Regions from separate parts of the Homo sapiens genome. Here regions 1, 2, 3, 4 and 5 are each linked to region 6. The links are contacts of gene promoters, found by promoter capture Hi-C in human tissues and cell types (Jung and others, 2019). All regions are on one chromosome and are shown on one strand. Each heading gives the region's core, a stretch centred on a gene start or on the middle of the fragment in contact. The rest is flanking DNA. Distances are from core to core; before and after follow the strand shown.

Region 1 (2,700 bases), core at 105-2,604, 190 kb before region 6:
TTTAATTTGGAAGAAAGTACAGATGACAGAATCTGGGACATTTTCTTCCCTTGCAAGTAGATGCTATAAGGCTCAGAGACTTAAAATAAACTCAAACTAAGGCATAATCATTGAAATGATTCCAGTTCAGAAGTTTTAGTGCTTAAATGGCAGCCTGAGGGCAGAAATTCTATATTCCTTCAACTTGCTACCTTCCAAGCTTGGAGCATTAATCTCTGAGTAAGCAGCCTTGGGTAATAGCAACCAGAAAAGCTTGATTTTGAAGAACATCAGATCTACTGAGAAAGTCAGAACATATTAATCAGATTTGAAACTCACTTAGGCAGTTCTTCAGCTATTTTCAGCATCATGTGGTTTGGCAGTACATATCTGGAAAAAAAAAAACACACACACACACACACACACACACACACACACACACACACGGTGGGGACACATTACATTCAGCCAGTAAGTTCCATTAGATGCTGTCACATAGGGGAAATAACCAGCTTTCATAGCAAAAGAAAAAAGCCCATTATTTACTTGTTATTAGATCTCCTCAGTCTGGAAACAAGTATTAAAAGAACCTCTAATCCCTTACCCGTAACTTTCATCTTCCCTGCGAGCTGTTTTATCCCTCCAGGCAAACAGCAGCTGAAAGGCTGTCAACTGCTGTGTGTTAAGGTGCTTCTTCTGCTTCCTATAGAGTTCAAGGTAGGACTCATCCGTGAAGATAGGTTTGATGAATTTCTACAAAGTATTAGAGAACATTCAAAATCAACGGGAATCAAAATTGTGCCCTGGGCTCTGGAAAATGTTTGGCTCTTTTCATGAATGTAAGGAGCAAACCTAAGAACTAGAACCTGGCCAGACACAGAGCCCAAGTGTCGCGGTCTGTGTGACTGCGGCTGAGGTGTACCTTGAGGCAGATGTCCCTGCTCCGTTGCCACACCACCTGCAGCTGCACCGGCTGCCCGTTGCCGCGCTCCCACATCTCCAGCCTCATTTTGTCATAGATATATAGCAGGTAATGGGTGTCATCCCGGGCGTAGCTGAGCATCTCCTCGGGCAGAGGGCTGGAATTGCAGAGGACAATGTTTTACTGATTGCCCCCAAGGACAGCAATTCAATTTGTCTATTCCTTGGGTGCTGGGACTTCCTTAGACCCTTCCAATATGAAAGATCCTTTCATAGTCAATACTGCAGTTATGCCAACATTTCCTGCATTTTAACATGATAAACCATTATTTTAACAGCTGGGTAGAATTGGAGGCAGGGTAATGCGGTGGTTAAAATAAGGGCACTGTCAGCTACTCTGGACACACACAAGAGGCAGTAGAAAAGGGGCCACTGGTGTCCTGAGTTCAAATCTCAGCTCCAGATGTCTGTCCTTGGACAAGTTCCTTAACCTCTTTGGGCTGACCCACCTAACTTGTGAAATGGGAACCAGGTACTTCATAGGCTGTTGTGAGGACTACACAGGACCACATCCTTGAAGCACTTAGCCCAGAGCTTGGCACAGGGTAAGGGCTCCGTAACAGGGAGTGGTTTTTAGATTTTATCAATTTTTATCTTTTATTTGGATTTTATCAGTCCAAATGTAATTTTACTTTTATATTTAGAAATTCTGGCATTCTGGGCCAGGCGCGGTGGCTCACGCCTGTAATCCCAGCACTTTGGGAGGCGGAGGCGGGAGGATCACCTGAGGTCAGGAGTTTGAGACCAGTCTGACCAACATGGAGAAACCTCGTCTCTACTGGAAATACAAAATTAGCTGGGCGTGGTGGTGCACGCCTGTAATCCTAGCTACTCAGGAGGCTGAGGCAGGAGAATTGCTTGAACCCGGGAGGCAGAGGTTGTGGTGAGCCGAGATCGCGCCATTGCACTCCAGCCTGGGCAACAGTGAAACTGCATCTCAAAAAAAAAAAAAGAAAAAAAGAAATTCTGGCATTCTGGCATGTGGAATTCCTGAAAAAGCTCAGTAGCACCTTCCTATGACAGGTGCAACCTCGGAGAGGTAGCAACCAAGCGGAAAACGACCAAGCTGAGCAAGGCCTGCAGGAAGTGGGGCAAAACTGCTACCTTATGCCACAAAAAAACGCTCAGTGTAAAGCTAAACAACAGTGTCCCTTAGAATTCTTTCCCACCTATGGAAGGTCATCTTGCACACACACACACACACACAATCATCCCTACAGAAGATCTTACACACACACAAAATCATCTGGTAGAAAGATCCCAGTTTCAAACAAAAGACCAGCATGGGCAAATACTGGTGCGGCACCTCTTTTTCAACCACTATTTCCATGGAACACAGTGTAACTGCATCAGCCCATCATAAAGTCCACCTTAGCATTAAAAAATTTCCTACCACTTTTACGCTGCTGAAGATGCCTGGCGAAAAGCCTGATGCCATTCATCTCAATGAGCGTGGTAGGGCTCAAACCCAGGTCTCTCTGGACGACAGGTTAATGAATAATCACTTTCTTCTGCCACCCACATTTCCTCAGTAAGAGCAAACTGACCGTATTCTCCAATCAGCCAGCTGATATTGCTTGTTTGAGTCCACGTTGCAGTAGAGTTTCAGGAGATGATCGAGTGAGTGCCTGCCCAGGTTAAGAAGGCGTGCTGCCTGATGAGTATCAAACATGTTTACTACATACAACCCAAAGTCTTTCTGTAGCCATTCTATGTCTGAATCAGCACCATGAAAGACCT
Region 2 (2,700 bases), core at 48-2,547, 130 kb after region 6:
ATGATGTTCCATGGTTTTGCTATGGTGTTTTTAGGTGGAGATCTCTTTTAATTTATCCTGCTTGAGATTCATTGAGCTTTCTGAAGTTTAGAGTAATAGTTCTGGAAAATTCTCAGCTATCTTCTCTTTGAATTTGACTCTCCACTGTTACCTCTGATATCTCCTTCTGGAACTCTGATTAGACACATACTCGATCTTCTCATTTCATCCCCACCTCTCTTAATCTCTCTTTTATATCTTCCATTTGTTTGTCTCCCTCTGCTACCTTCTGAGAAATGTATTTATTTTTTATTTTTTGAGACAGAGTTTTGCTCTGTTGCCCAGGCTGAAGTGCAGTGGCATGATCTCGGCTCACTGCAACCTCCGTCTCTTGGGTTCAAGTGATTCTTCTGCCTCAGCCTCCTGAGTAGCTAGGACTACAGGCGTGTGCCACCACGCACAGCTACTTTTTTCGTAATTTTCATAGAGACAGGGGCCTGGGGAGTGTGGTTTTGCCATGTGGCCAGGCTGGTTTTGAACTCCTGGCCTCAAGTGATCCACCCACCTCGACCTCCCACAGGGCTGGAATTACAGGCGTGAGCCACTGTGCCAGGCAAGAAATGTATTTTTATGTCTTTTCCAGTTCACTAATTCTCTCCTCAGCTGTCTCATCTTCTGTTTCATTCATGAAGTTTCTACTTTCAATTATTAAACTTCTCATCTCTAGATATTTTATTGGACTCTTTTTCAAATCAATCTGGTAATTTTTCATAATCTCATTTTCCTTTGTCATACTTTTGCTATCCACTTTTACGTTTTAAAATCCTTGCATGTTTATTTTATATGCAATGTCTGATAATTCAACATTGGCCACCTGTGCATGTCTGGTTTGCAGTTGCTGTTTTTGGTGGCCCCTGCTCACAGTAGCTTGTTTCCTGTGTGTTTTGACTTTTTCTCTACTGTGCACTTTCTTGGAACTTGTTTTCTACAGGAATTCGTGGAGGCCTGGCCTTAGGGCTGTTTCTTCAGAGAAGATTGGTGTATATTTCTGCCAGGTGCTGCTGTTAACGGTGGGCTGATTTTCTGCTTGTGGTTTTTTAGGCCGCATAAGTAGAATGAATTCTGGCCCCACGCCCACATAAGGGCAAGCTGGTGGTTAAGATTCTCAGGAAGGAAGACTTTTTCTTTTTTTTTTTCTGGTTTTTATTTTTCCCTTCCCACCAGAGCCAAGGCAGGCTTTTCTAGTTCATGTTCGGAAGACCTTGCTTTATGTGTGGTTGGTGATATGGTTTGGCTCTGTGTCCCCACCCAAATCTTATCCTGTAGCTCCCATAATCCCCACAAGTTGTGGGAGGGAGCCAGCGGGAGATGATTGAATCAGGGGGCGTGTCTTTCCCGTGCTGTTCTGGTGATAGTGAATGGGTCTCACGAGATCTGACGGTTTTTAAAAACGGGAGTTTCCCTGCACAAGCTCTCCTTTTGCCTGCTGCCATCCACGAAAAATGTGACTTGCTCCTCCTTCCGCCATGATTGTAAGGCCTCCCAGCCATGTGGAACTGTAAGTCTGATAAACCTCTTTCTTTTGTAAATTGCCCAGTCTCAGGCATGTCTTTGTCAGCAGCATGAAAACGGACTAATACAGTTGGCAAATTTCATCTCCCACCTTGCCCAGACCGGCTTTGTTTCTTGCTGTTATAACACAGAGCATCAAAGGCCAGGCTTTCGGCTGACCAGATGCCCCCGTGGAAGTGCTGGCTTCAGTGCCAGCTCACTCACTTCTCTGGAGTTGCATTCTTGCAACTTTGAAGGTTTTCTTTACTTTCCCACAAACCTATCCATGCATTAAAAAGCATTTTAAATGCTTCATCCAGCAATTTCAGAGGTCCTGTATTGGGAAAGTATCTCCAGAACTTAGCCATAGGGCCCAGTTTTATTTATCCTTCATTCATTCACTTATTCATGTCACAAACACTTCCTTGAGTACCTACTAGGGGCCAAGTCCTGGGTTAGCCAAAGAGGATGTAGAGATCCATTAAGACACGGTCCCCCTTGGGGAGCTCAGCACGAAGGCCCTTAAAATGTGACTCGATGGTGTTGGCAGAAATAATTCAAATTATAGGCACACCTCGTTTTATTGCACTTAGCTTTCTTGGGTTTTGCGGATATTGCCTTTTATTTTTATTTTATTTTTTTAACAAATTGAGGGCTTCTGGCAACCCTGCATTGAGCAAGTCTATTGGCGCCATTTTTTCCAACAGCATGAGCTCAGTTCACGTCTCTCCATAATCTTCACAATCTTTGAAACTTTTTCATTATTATTATCTCTGTTATGGTGATCTGCGATCTTTGACATTACTATTGTAATTGTTTTGGGGTGCCACAAACTGTGCCCATAGAAGATGGCAAACTTAATAAATGTTGTGTGTGTTCCCAGTGCCCCCTTCTCTCTCTCTTCAGGCCTCCTGATTCTCAGAGACACAATAATATTGCAATTAGGCCAATTAATAGTCCTACAGTGGCCTCTAAGTATTCAAGTGAAAGGAAGAGTCACACGTCTCCCACTTTACATCAAAAGCTAGAAATGATTAAGCTTAGTGAGGAAGGCATATTGAAAGCCAAGAGAGGCCAAAAGTTAGACCTCTTGCCCCAAACAGTCAGCCAGGATGTGAGTGCAAAGGAAAAGTTCTTGAAAAAAATTAAAAGTAATACTCTAGTGAACAC
Region 3 (2,700 bases), core at 120-2,619, 140 kb before region 6:
AATCTTTCTGTATTAATTAAACTTGTAGGGGGAAATGCAGGCTCCCTGGGCCTCTTATAGATAGGCTCCAGGGACTCAAGGAGTAAGTTCACAGCATCAGCCTAGCTCCGCAGAAGCTCAGCTGTAACCACGAGCACACAGGAGGACACGAGCCAGCCAGGGTGCTGGGTCTCACAGGTGGCCTGCTTCTGATCACCTTGTACCAGCTGCGGTCGTGCTCTGTGGCGGCGCTGTAGTACTGCAGCACTTTGGGGATTGTGCTCTCATTGATGCCCTGTAGATTCAGCTGCCACTCTCCAAGTTTCAGGAAGCATCTGGAAGCAGAGAAACAAGCCCCCATGACATTCCCTCCTCAAAACAGCCCTCCTAAGAGGACCACAAATTGTTAGGGGACACTGAAGCCCTTCTGGTATTTCCTCTTATTCTCAAGAGGCAATGTGAAGGAGCTAGCAAAATTTTCAGCCACACGCAAGAAAGGAGATGGGCTTTTGGAATACATTTTTAAGATACCATCTTTCCATCTTGACCTTTGTCTCTCAATGACAGCATAAACCATGTACCTGGTACAGATAGGTCTGTATGGACTTACCTACCCCAAACCCAATTTTTTGTGGGTGACAGTTGAGAGTTACTTCTTTATTGATTGCTATATGGCTTCTCCCTTACTTTTCCCTTTGCCTCCATTCTTTGTAATGAGATTAGCCCACATTTACTGACTGCTACTGTATTCCAAGTGCTGCTTGAAATGCTTGGCATTGTACTCTTTGCATTAATCCTCACACTACTTTATACCACCCTAGGAAATAGAAACTGTTACTATCCCTTTTATATTGGTAACTGAGGCATAGAGAGGTTAAGTCACTTCTCTGAAGTCAAATATCAAATCTGCAGCACAGAGTGGCACAGTGGCCCACACCTATAATCCCAGCATTTTGGAAGGCTGTGGAGGGAGGCTGGCTGGAGCACAGGAGTTTGAGACCAGCCTGGGCAACATTAAACTTGTAGGAGGAAATGCAGGCTCTATGCCTGTTCTTTTGTAGAGACCTCATTTCTACAAAAAACTAGCCAGTGTGGTGGCACGTGCCTATAGCTACTTGGGAAACTGAGGTGGGAGGATTGCTTAAGCCCAGGAGATCAAGGCTATACTCTAGCCTGGGTGACACAGCAAGACCATCTTAAAAAAAAAAAAGGGAGGGGCAGCATATCTGACATTTGAAAACAAGGACTCTAAAACCAGACGCCAGGAGAACAGCACATGGGTGCTCTTGGGCTGCTGAACCTAGGAAAGCAAGTGGCAGAGACTTTGAGAGCAGTATGCTTTGGTGGTTGCCTGGGATCCCTACTGGAAAAGGAAAGAGAGATGTCAGCAATCAGCCACCCAAGAAGCCTTGAACTCCTCCTTGCTGCAGAAGCTGCTGGGATGACAGGGCTGGAATATGACTTGCCCCAGGTCAGTGGGGACCTCACCGGGCCATGAGCTTGTGCAGTTCCTGCTTATGCTGCTGGTCCTCAGTAGCGATGGCATGCTGGGCCTGTTGCTGCATGGTCTGGACAAAATGCTGCATGTGCTGGAAGGCATCGATCTGTAACAGGACAAAGGCACAGAGAGCCACTTGGCTTGTGGCCCAGCTTCAGAGGAAGGGAGCTACCGTTCATCTGATAGGCATGAGTCAACCCCTCTCCAAACAGAATACCCTAGAGCACAGAATGATGACCCCATAGGACAGAGGACCAGGGCGTGATACTGGGAGAGACTGGGCTTTTCAAAAAGATTCATGACTTATTCAACTCAAGTCTTGGCTCTCCTTTGCCAACTATAATTACCAGTTTTATAAGCCTTGGCAAAGTTTCATGCCTGGCTACCCCAAATAAAAATTCCTACAAAGTAATTTGAAACAACTGCTTACTTCACTATCAATATGTTACCCTGGGGGATATTAGGCTTTTGGGAATTGTTTCAGGCTAATAAAACTTTGGTATTTGTTTACAACACCAGGGTACCTTGGACAGTCCAGCGGAGCAAAAACTATGGATTTAAAAATCATATAGCACCCAAATAAGAACACAGATTTGGAGTGAAAACCCGCATGCATTCACAGGGAATAGGGAGAAGATATTAGCTCAGCAGACATCTGGTTGAACAGGGTGACTTAGGGGCAAAATCTCCAGAGCATCCTAAAGCAGCTAGATCTATTTATACTACCGGCTTGTATACAAAGTGAGCAGAGGGCATGTGAGTCAGGAACAGACAGCTGAACTGAGGAAGGGCAGAGACAGAATCACAGATCTGGGACTACTGTACAAGCCCGCCACATCCAGTTGAACCAGCATCTTGATAAGTGCGGTCCATATCACTTTTAAAGGGAAAAACAAATCTTTTCTGGTTTTTCTAGAGGGGGGAAAACCCACAAATAGAAAAAAAAATAATAATAAAGGGCTTCAAGGATGGAGATAGAATGTACAAACATCAAAAGCTCAAATGGAAAAATGGCAAAATCTAAATGCATTAACACAGGGAAAGGAAACATTATATGAGAGAATGTGAAAAAGAGGCAATGTGTTCTGTGCTGCAGAAGAAGGAAAAAATCAAGACTTCAGATAAATAACAGTTCTCCTTATGGTAAATCATATAAGAGGTATTTTTGTTTGTTTTAAATAAAAACATGTTAGCCAGGTGCAGTGGCTCACACCTGTAATCCC
Region 4 (2,700 bases), core at 152-2,651, 210 kb before region 6:
GTGCCCTCACCACCTGCCAGGCCCTCTGCCATCTGGTTTTCCTACTGAACCCTCCCCGACCAGGTGTTTTCCAGATGGAGAAACAGGCCCTACCTGCCTTGCTCGGGGGTGTGCAGCCATTTCAGGGCACAGCTGGCCGCTGGGAGAACCAGGACTCAAACCTGGCTCTACGCCGGCACTCACCTCGTCGATCTCACACTGGACCACGGACTCCACGGAGGGGTGCTTCACCACCTCCCGCAGGACACCTCCATCTCCGCCCCCGATGATCAGCACCTGGGAGGAGGGGGCAGTCAAGGCAGGGGCCCTGGCAGGACTGGGAGCCCCCAGGCCCCTGAAGCAGACCCCCTGACCCCTCGGACCCACGGGCCTCATCTTTTTCTACCCTCGGAAACGCTTTCGTGCCGGTGTCCCCTTTCCTGGAAGTTCCTTCCAGGGCTGCCCTAGGATTCCGAGGCCGCGTCAGTGTCGGCCCCCACCCCTCCGCGGGACGCCCCTGGCCTCGCTAGCACTTTCTCTGACAACCATGCAGGCAGCATCTGGGAAGAGCCCGGAGCACACCTGGGGCCGCCCCTCGTCCGGCACTGTTCCAGGGGACACTGGGGTACCTTTCGCGGGTTGGGGTGGCTGCAGAGAGGCAGGTTGGCGATCATCTCCTGGTAGGAGAACTCGTCTCTCTCCGTGCACTGGATGACACCGTCCAACACCAGCACGTTGCCATAGGTCTTACTGCGGGCGGAGTGACAGTCGGGGACCTGGGTTCTCTGGGGTGGGGAAAACGTACCCCAAGCCGCCCTGGGTGAGGAGGGTCTCCCCATCCCGCCTAGGGGTCCCAGGGATGAGGAGCGATGGTGACACGTGGCGAGGAACGGCAGGCGGGCCGCCGGGTGGAGGCCGGGGTGGGACCCGGGGTCTCCTCGGGCTCTGACGTGTCCTGAGGGCTGACACGTGGAGCGGGGCGCAGACTCCGACTCCCCCACCCAAGAGGCCAGCCCGCAGTCCCAGCCCCAGCCCAGGGAGGCGGTGTGAGGGGTGGCGAGGGGGCCAGGGCAGGACGAGGTCCAGCCCGCTTGGGTCCCGGCGTGGAGAGGCCCGTGAGGCGGGCAGCAGGCGGCCCGGGCTGAGCCTAGGGGGCAGGCGCCTGCGGGCAGCGGCGGTACCTGCGGAAGACGAGGATGTCCTGGTAGCGCGAGCGCCGGTGGTGGAGCAGCTGCTCCACCTGCAGTGACAGGGCCTGGCCGGGCCACAGGCTGCAGGTCTCGCGGAACCAGCCCTCGCGGATGGCGGCGGGGCCGGAGGCGGCGGGGCCGTCGGGGCCGGGCTCCATGGCGGGCGGGCGGGCGGCGCGGGGCGCGGGCCCGGGACTGCAGGCCGCGCGGCGCCGCAGCACAACGGGACCAGCTCCGCCCGCCGCCCGCGCCGCAACCTAACCCGGGCGCGGGGCGGGGCCTGCCGGCGGGGGCGGAGCCCGCGCTCGCCAATGGCAAAGCGGCCTCGCCTGGCGCTCATTGGCCACCGGCTCGCAGAGCGGCGCAGAGTGGCTGTGGCGCGCCGTCCGTCGGCGGCAGCAGGGTAGTGCGGCCCGCTCCAGGGGCCACGTGGGGCCCGGCCGGGGCCGGGCGGCCGGGTCGGGTTCCGGGGCGGGCTGGGCCGGCGGAAGGGGTCCGGGTCCTTCCTCCGCCCCAAGCAGCCGGGGCGGTGCACCACCGGCCCCCGCTTCCTTCTCGGGGTTGGGAGGCACCGAGGGCCTCGAGGGGCTGCGGGACTCGGGCTTGGTGTGGAGGGCAAGAGCGCTGCGACGTGCGGACTGGAGAGTCAGCCTTTGGGCTGGAGACACGGGAGCGGGTGGCTACAGTGGTTTACGTTGTTGCACGGGGCGAGTAGAACGTATCCTTCTTTGCGTCCAAAATCTGGTTCCTTGTTGGATTTGAACAGATTATGTGGCTCGTCGGGGCGAACCGAGGGTTTTTATTTACTTGGAAAGAATCATCACAGCCCGCGAATTCACAAGCTGGATTTAGCCATTTTCCCTTAGATTCTGCGCCATGAGCCTATAGGCTGTTGAATACGAGAGAAGTGCTTTTCTAAACGAGTTTCTAAATTTACCAGCAGTGTCCAGGAAGAGGCCCAGAACATACATATTCAGCACCAGAAAAGACTGGCACGCAATTTTTCTTGACAAACTGGGTCTTGCTCTTTGAAGGGTGGGTGGGAATGTGCTGTTTTTATGAGAATGTCAAAGAACTTCTCAGAATCACATTAAGCATGCTAATTACCAAATATTAAATGCTAATTGTTCCACACGCAGTTCGAATGCCAAGGAAGGAAGATGAAACTAGTATAAGCTACTCTTGACATTATGTCAGGGATGGTTTTGACACGTTTTGCAGCCTCCACCTGGAGGTGGGGAACGTTTCCTGTGTCGTCCCCAGAGCAGAGTAACAGCGTTGTTTATGGGTGAGAGCAAGCCTCAAGCCTAGGCAACAATGTGCCTTGCTTGCTTTTAAGCTCCTTCTAAAGGGGAGGTAAACCAAGACCGCTAAAGAATTGCTAGGTGCCTGGGCGTGATGGTTCACCCCGGTAATCCCAGCACTGTGGGAGGCGGAGGCGGAGGCGGGCGGATCACGAGGTCAAGAGATCAAGACGATCCTGGCCAACATGGTGAAACCCCGTCTGTACTAAAAATACAAAAATTAGCTG
Region 5 (2,700 bases), core at 121-2,620, 220 kb after region 6:
ACTAAAAATACAAAAAATTAGCCGGGCGTAGTGGCGGGCGCCTGTAGTCCCAGCTACTTGGGAGGCTGAGGCAGGAGAATGGCGTGAACCCGGGAGGCGGAGCTTGCAGTGAGCCGAGATCCCGCCACTGCACTCCAGCCTGGGCGACAGAGCGAGACTCCGTCTCAAAAAAAAAAAAAAAAAAAAAAAGAAGTTAATAATCGTACTAGCTGCTCTGGTTCAGCAGGGGAGCAGTATCACCATCCCCATTTTACAGATTTCCCTCTTGGTGTTAGGGGGTCGGGTTCTGTCCCACTGAGCCCACTAGAGAGGGGACACCAGAACAGGAAAAGTGATAGTGGCTGTTGTGCCCATGAACGTTGGATCCCTCTGGTGTTGGCTGGGACGTTTCCTCAGGTGATATATTGACCCAGGCAAAGCTTGTTTGCCTGATAAATATTGAGCCATTGGGTTTTTCGAGTCAGCGCCCATAGTTTCCTCACCAGCTGTCAGCCCCAGGAGGCCAGTCATCCTTCATCCACTCCATCTGTGCAGCCTGACCTTCTCTGAGAAATGGGGGGCTTGGACAGGCTCGCCACAGAGCCCCCACCCGATTCCTCTCCCCACCCCCACCTGGGCTTCTAATAATAAGCCCAGATTTTCTTTGCAGAGAGGAATGGTCATTTGTACCCCCTCTGAATTTCCGGCTGGCAAATTGAGCCAACAAAGATCGTGTTTCTTAGGGGGCAGCAGGGGTGATGGGGAGTAGAGGTAGGTGCTTGCTTCAGCTGCAGCCACAAAGCCAGGTTTCCCTGGGGCTGGGGCAGGAGATATGGGGTGATAGATTCAGGATCTTCTTGCTGGGGAAAGAGCTCAGACAAGTGTGGAAAGTCACTCAGCCATACCCCTTCCTCTATGGATCTGGAAGGCATTCCCTGGCTCTGTTGCCGTGTTCATTTGAGATTCTAGGTAGGACTTGGAACATCTTCAGAGAAGACTCTGGGAGGGCCCTAGGATCCAGCTGCTAGGATGGGGCTCCCTGCTTCACTCCTACTTTCTCTCTGGGATGCTTCACGGCCCCATTGTATTAGGGTTCTCCAGAAGAAAATAACCAATAGCATATATATATCAGAGAGAGATTTATTAGAAGGAATTGGCTTATGTGATTATGGAGGCTGAGAAGCCCCAAGATCTGCAGGCAGCAAGCTGGAGACCCAGGAGAGCTGATGGTATAGTTGCAGTTTGAGACTGAAGGCCTGAGAACCAGGAGGGCCAATGGTGTAAGTTCTAGTCTGATAGCTGGCAGGCTGAAGACCCAAGAAGAGCTGATATTTCAGCTTGAGTCCAAAGGCCAGAAAAGACCAATGTCCAAGCTCTAGCAGTCAACAAAAACAATTTCCTCTTAGCCTTTTCATTCTATTCAGATCTTCAACTGATTCGTTGAGGCCCACCCTCATTAGTGAGAACCATCTGCTTTACTCTGTGTACTGATGCTGATCTTATCTGGAGGCTGGGCTTGGTGGCTCACTCCTGTAATCCTAGCACTTTGGGAGGCGGAGGTGGGCGGATCACTTGAGGTAGGAGTTCAAGACCAGCCTGGCCAACATGGCGAAACCCCGTCTCTACTAAAAATACAAAAATTAGCCAGGCATGGTGGCATGCACCTGTAATCCCAGCTACTTGGGAGGCTGAGACAGGAGAATCATTTGAACCTCAGAGGTGGAGGTTGCAGTGAGCTGAGATCATGCCACCACACTCAAGCCTGGGCAACAGAGCAAGACTCCATCTCAAAAAAAAAAAAATCTTATCTGGAAACACACTCTCTCTCTCACACACACACCCAGAATCATGTTTGGCCAAATATCTGGGCACCCCATAGTCCAGTCAAGTTGACACATAGAATTAACCATCACACCCATGACCCATTGAAGGGAAAGCCAAGCTTCTGAGGTTGGTGGGAGACTTCCTTTACATCATGCCCTGAGTTGCCACCTGCTGAAAGCAGAATTGCCAGGCCCCGAGTGATCTGTGGTCTTATGGGGATGGGGCAAACTTGCTAAAAGGCAATGGGTTTCTTCAACAAGTACTGACATATCAGCTCTCAAAGAGCTCATAGGCTACCTGGTATGGCCAAAAGAGCCTGGGCTTTAGGATCAATAGACCTGGGGTTCAAACTCCAGTTCTGCCCCTTAGTAGCTGTGTGACCACCAGGGAGTCACTTAACCTCTCTGATTCTGATTTTGCTTCTGTAAAAAGTGAATGCTCATAATGCCTTCCCTAGCGTCCTTGCAGGGCTGATGTGAGGATGACAGAGGATGGATAAGGAGTACTGGCACGTGGTAGATGCAGAGTTAATTATTATGATGGTCTTAATGGGTGTCAGAGTTTCTGCATTGAACTAGCTGGGCTGAACTAGCTGGGCTTTTGACTGCACTCCATGTGTGTGATTTTGCCCGTTTCACCACCACATCTCCAGTGCCTCTCCAGCCTCCTGGCCTAGGTGGAGTGTCCAGGTCTCGGGGAAAGGTTTGGGATTCTGATGACTGGCACATAGCCAGGACATCCGGAGAGCGGTGGATTCTCAGAAGACGGAGTATCAGGACGTAGGACAGTGATGCCTGGGAGGCACCAAGGCCTCCTCTTTTCTTTCCTCCCTTCTCTGGAGCTGTTCAACTCAAAATAACTCATTTTGAGCTTCTGCCCAAAACTCTCGACCCAAGG
Region 6 (2,700 bases), core at 123-2,622:
GACATGAATGTTGGTTGATATTTTATGTTAGGAGTAAGAGGAAAGTGAAACAATCAAAAGAGATATGTCAGAACTTCACTAGTTTGTCAAGGCTACAAGCGACTTATTTGTTCAACTGGATAATAATTTGCCAATGCTGAACGAATATTTCCTCAAAGTTTTGGTGCATTCACTTACACACTTTTTTTCTCTCTTTTTTTTCTTTTTTGAGACGGAGTCTCGCTCTACTGCCCAGGCTGGAGTGCAGTGGCGTGATCTTGGCTCACTGCAGCCTCTGCCTCCAGGGTTCAAGCAATTCTCCTGCCTCAGCCTCCCGAGTAGCTGTGATTACAGGAATGCACCACCACCCCCGGCTAATTTTTTTTTTTTTTTTGAGATGGAGTCTCACTCTGTTGCCCAGGCTGGAGCCCATTGGCATGATCTTGGCTCACTGCAACCTCCATCTCCCGGGTTCAAGCAATTCTCCTGCCCCAGCCTCCCGAGTAGCTGGGATTACAGGTGCCTGCCACCACGCACGGCTAATTTTTGTATTTTTAGTAGAGACAGGGTTTCGCTATGTTGGCCAGGCTGATGTCGAACTCCTGACATCAAGTGATCCGCCTGCCTCGGCCTTCCAAAGTGCTGGGATTACAGGCGTGAGCCACCGCACCCTCCAACACTTTTAAGTTTAACCAGTAATATGAACATTTTCTCCGCCACTTTCTTAAGTCTAGACGACTTAGCAGTTATTAAGCATTTGCTGATTTGCGTGGTGTAAATTCTCCCACCATGGGCAGATTTCAAGCTGCTGAAGGATGTCACTGAATGAAAAGCTGATAAGAGGTGAGCAGTAGCACATCATAGAGTATTTCCACGGTGCAGATATGATAGACGTCAGAATGTATGCACACAGCAGGCGCTCAATAAATGCTTGTAGCATGAATAAATTAATGAATCCTACTTCGTGAATGAAAGTGCGCCCGGTAAGTCCTAAAGCAACACGCCTTCGAGTTCTTATGATGCTAAGAGAGGCTGATTGCAGTTAGTCTGGAAGTAGCTGCGGGGCGCAGTGCAGGCAGGAAAAGGGCTGGATGCCGGGTCACCGCCCGGCCCCAGCTCCTGGCCCGTCCCCGCTCCCGGTCCATTCCCGCCCCGGCCCCGCCCCCTCCCGCCCCACCACCGGTCTGGCCCCGCCCCTCAGCCCCGCCCCACCCCTCACCGCCCTTCTCCCCGCCTCTGACCCCGCCCCTCCTCTGACTCGGCCCTGCCCGCCCCGCCTCTGACCAGGCCCCCGCCCCCCACCCCTCACCGCCCTTCTCCCCGCCTCTGGCTCGGCCCCGCCCCCTCCCGCCCTCCAGCCCACCCTCCGGTCCAGCCCGCGCCGCCGGCACCTGTTTCCGGGCGGGCCTCCAGAGGCCGGCGCACAAGATGGCGGCTCTGGCGGCCTAAAGAAGGCGGCCGCGGCTCAGCCGTGGGCTCTAACGCGGGGCTGGGGGCCGGAGACAGACTTCGCCCAGGTGACGGGTAGTAGGGGCGGCGCCGCTTGGCCTCGTGGGGTGTAAGACCCACTTGCTGTTGCCCCCGGACCTTGCCGCCACACCAGCCCTGTCCTGGGGCGGAACCGAAGGAAGGTCGGGCCCTGCTGCCCCGCCCCGTCCTTCCTCCTTCCCGGGCGGTCACTGTGCGTGGCTCACTTTTAGAGTTTACTTCAACCACGTGGAGCTTCCATGGCGGCCTCTCAGGTCCTGGGGGAGAAGATTAACATCCTGTCGGGAGAGACTGTCAAAGCTGGGGACAGGGACCCGCTGGGGAACGACTGTCCCGAGCAAGATAGGCTCCCCCAGCGCTCCTGGAGGCAGAAGTGTGCCTCCTACGTGTTGGCCCTGAGGCCCTGGAGCTTCAGTGCCTCACTCACACCGGTGGCCCTGGGCAGTGCCCTTGCCTACAGATCCCACGGTGTCCTGGATCCCAGGCTCTTGGTGGGTTGTGCCGTGGCTGTCCTGGCTGTGCACGGGGCCGGTAATTTGGTCAACACTTACTATGACTTTTCCAAGGGCATTGACCACAAAAAGAGTGATGACAGGACACTTGTGGACCGAATCTTGGAGCCGCAGGATGTCGTCCGGTTCGGAGTCTTCCTCTACACGTTGGGCTGCGTCTGTGCCGCTTGCCTCTACTACCTGTCCCCTCTGAAACTGGAGCACTTGGCTCTTATCTACTTTGGAGGCCTGTCTGGCTCCTTTCTCTACACAGGAGGTAAGATTTGGCCTGTCCTGTGTGCTGCAGGTCTTAGTCGCGTCCACTGGAAACCGCTGCTTTGTAAAGGAGTTATAGGGATGTCAAAGGTGGCTTTCTAATTTAAGCCGCTTTAATTGAAGTCTATAATTGTGGGTGATGTGAATTTTTTGAAACAGTGATTTGAGAAGATCCTGGTTTGACTTACGGACGTAGGGCATGACTGAAAATTTTATATGGACATTTATTTTTATTTATTTTTTATGTATTCATTTTTGAGACGGAGTCTCGCTCTGTCGCCCAGGCTGGAGTGCAGTGGTGCGATCTCGGCCCACTGCAGCCTCTGCCTCCCGTGTTCAAGCGATTCTCCTGCCTCAGCCTCCCGAGTAGCTGGGACTACAGGTGCACGCCACCACGCCTGGCTGATTTTTGTATTTTTATTAGAGACGGGGTGTCACCATGTTGGCCAGGATGGTCTCGATTTCC

The links. The method cuts DNA at HindIII sites, captures the fragments that hold promoters and counts their contacts. A contact is called where the count stands out against the background at its distance.
Region 1: a fragment that was not itself captured here is called in contact with the fragment with the promoter of UBIAD1 in region 6 in 1 of the 25 tissues and cell types used here (liver).
Region 2: a contact is called between a fragment that was not itself captured here and the fragment with the promoter of UBIAD1 in region 6, in 1 of the 25 tissues and cell types used here (neural progenitor cells).
Region 3: a contact is called between a fragment that was not itself captured here and the fragment with the promoter of UBIAD1 in region 6, in 1 of the 25 tissues and cell types used here (mesendoderm cells).
Region 4: a contact is called between the fragment with the promoter of SRM here and the fragment with the promoter of UBIAD1 in region 6, in 1 of the 25 tissues and cell types used here (heart left ventricle).
Region 5: a fragment that was not itself captured here is called in contact with the fragment with the promoter of UBIAD1 in region 6 in 8 of the 25 tissues and cell types used here (H1 embryonic stem cells, IMR-90 fibroblasts, aorta and 5 more).

The regions. Positions count from the first base shown.
Region 1 is chr1:11,080,181-11,082,880 of GRCh38, forward strand. EXOSC10 (exosome component 10) reads right to left here. Exons shown (of 25, transcript NM_001001998.3): 10 at 2,508-2,698; 11 at 902-1,058; 12 at 584-732; 13 at 319-369. Among named protein-coding and RNA genes, the nearest start is that of EXOSC10-AS1, 18 kb to the right of the region's middle. The HindIII fragment of the contact is 3,356 bases long and covers 1-2,700 here.
Region 2 is chr1:11,406,450-11,409,149 of GRCh38, forward strand. No RefSeq gene overlaps it. Among named protein-coding and RNA genes, the nearest start is that of DISP3, 71 kb to the right of the region's middle. The HindIII fragment of the contact is 3,403 bases long and covers 1-2,700 here.
Region 3 is chr1:11,132,884-11,135,583 of GRCh38, forward strand. It overlaps MTOR (mechanistic target of rapamycin kinase), which reads right to left. Exons shown (of 58, transcript NM_004958.4): 37 at 1,468-1,583; 38 at 197-314. Among named protein-coding and RNA genes, the nearest start is that of MTOR-AS1, 9.7 kb to the right of the region's middle. The HindIII fragment of the contact is 7,755 bases long and covers 1-2,700 here.
Region 4 is chr1:11,058,617-11,061,316 of GRCh38, forward strand. It overlaps SRM (spermidine synthase), which reads right to left and starts at 1,402. Exons shown (of 8, transcript NM_003132.3): 1 at 1,161-1,402; 2 at 609-729; 3 at 184-276. The coding sequence starts at 1,327. RefSeq lists silencers at 922-1,111, 1,322-1,851. The HindIII fragment of the contact is 6,396 bases long and covers 1-2,700 here.
Region 5 is chr1:11,491,956-11,494,655 of GRCh38, forward strand. All of the region lies in intron 1 of DISP3 (dispatched RND transporter family member 3), which reads left to right. Among named protein-coding and RNA genes, the nearest start is that of DISP3, 14 kb to the left of the region's middle. The HindIII fragment of the contact is 6,238 bases long and covers 1-2,700 here.
Region 6 is chr1:11,271,826-11,274,525 of GRCh38, forward strand. UBIAD1 (UbiA prenyltransferase domain containing 1) reads left to right here and starts at 1,373. Exons shown (of 2, transcript NM_013319.3): 1 at 1,373-2,235. The coding sequence starts at 1,707. RefSeq lists silencers at 952-1,221, 1,282-1,331 and enhancers at 1,332-1,501, 1,592-1,641. The HindIII fragment of the contact is 12,769 bases long and covers 1-2,700 here.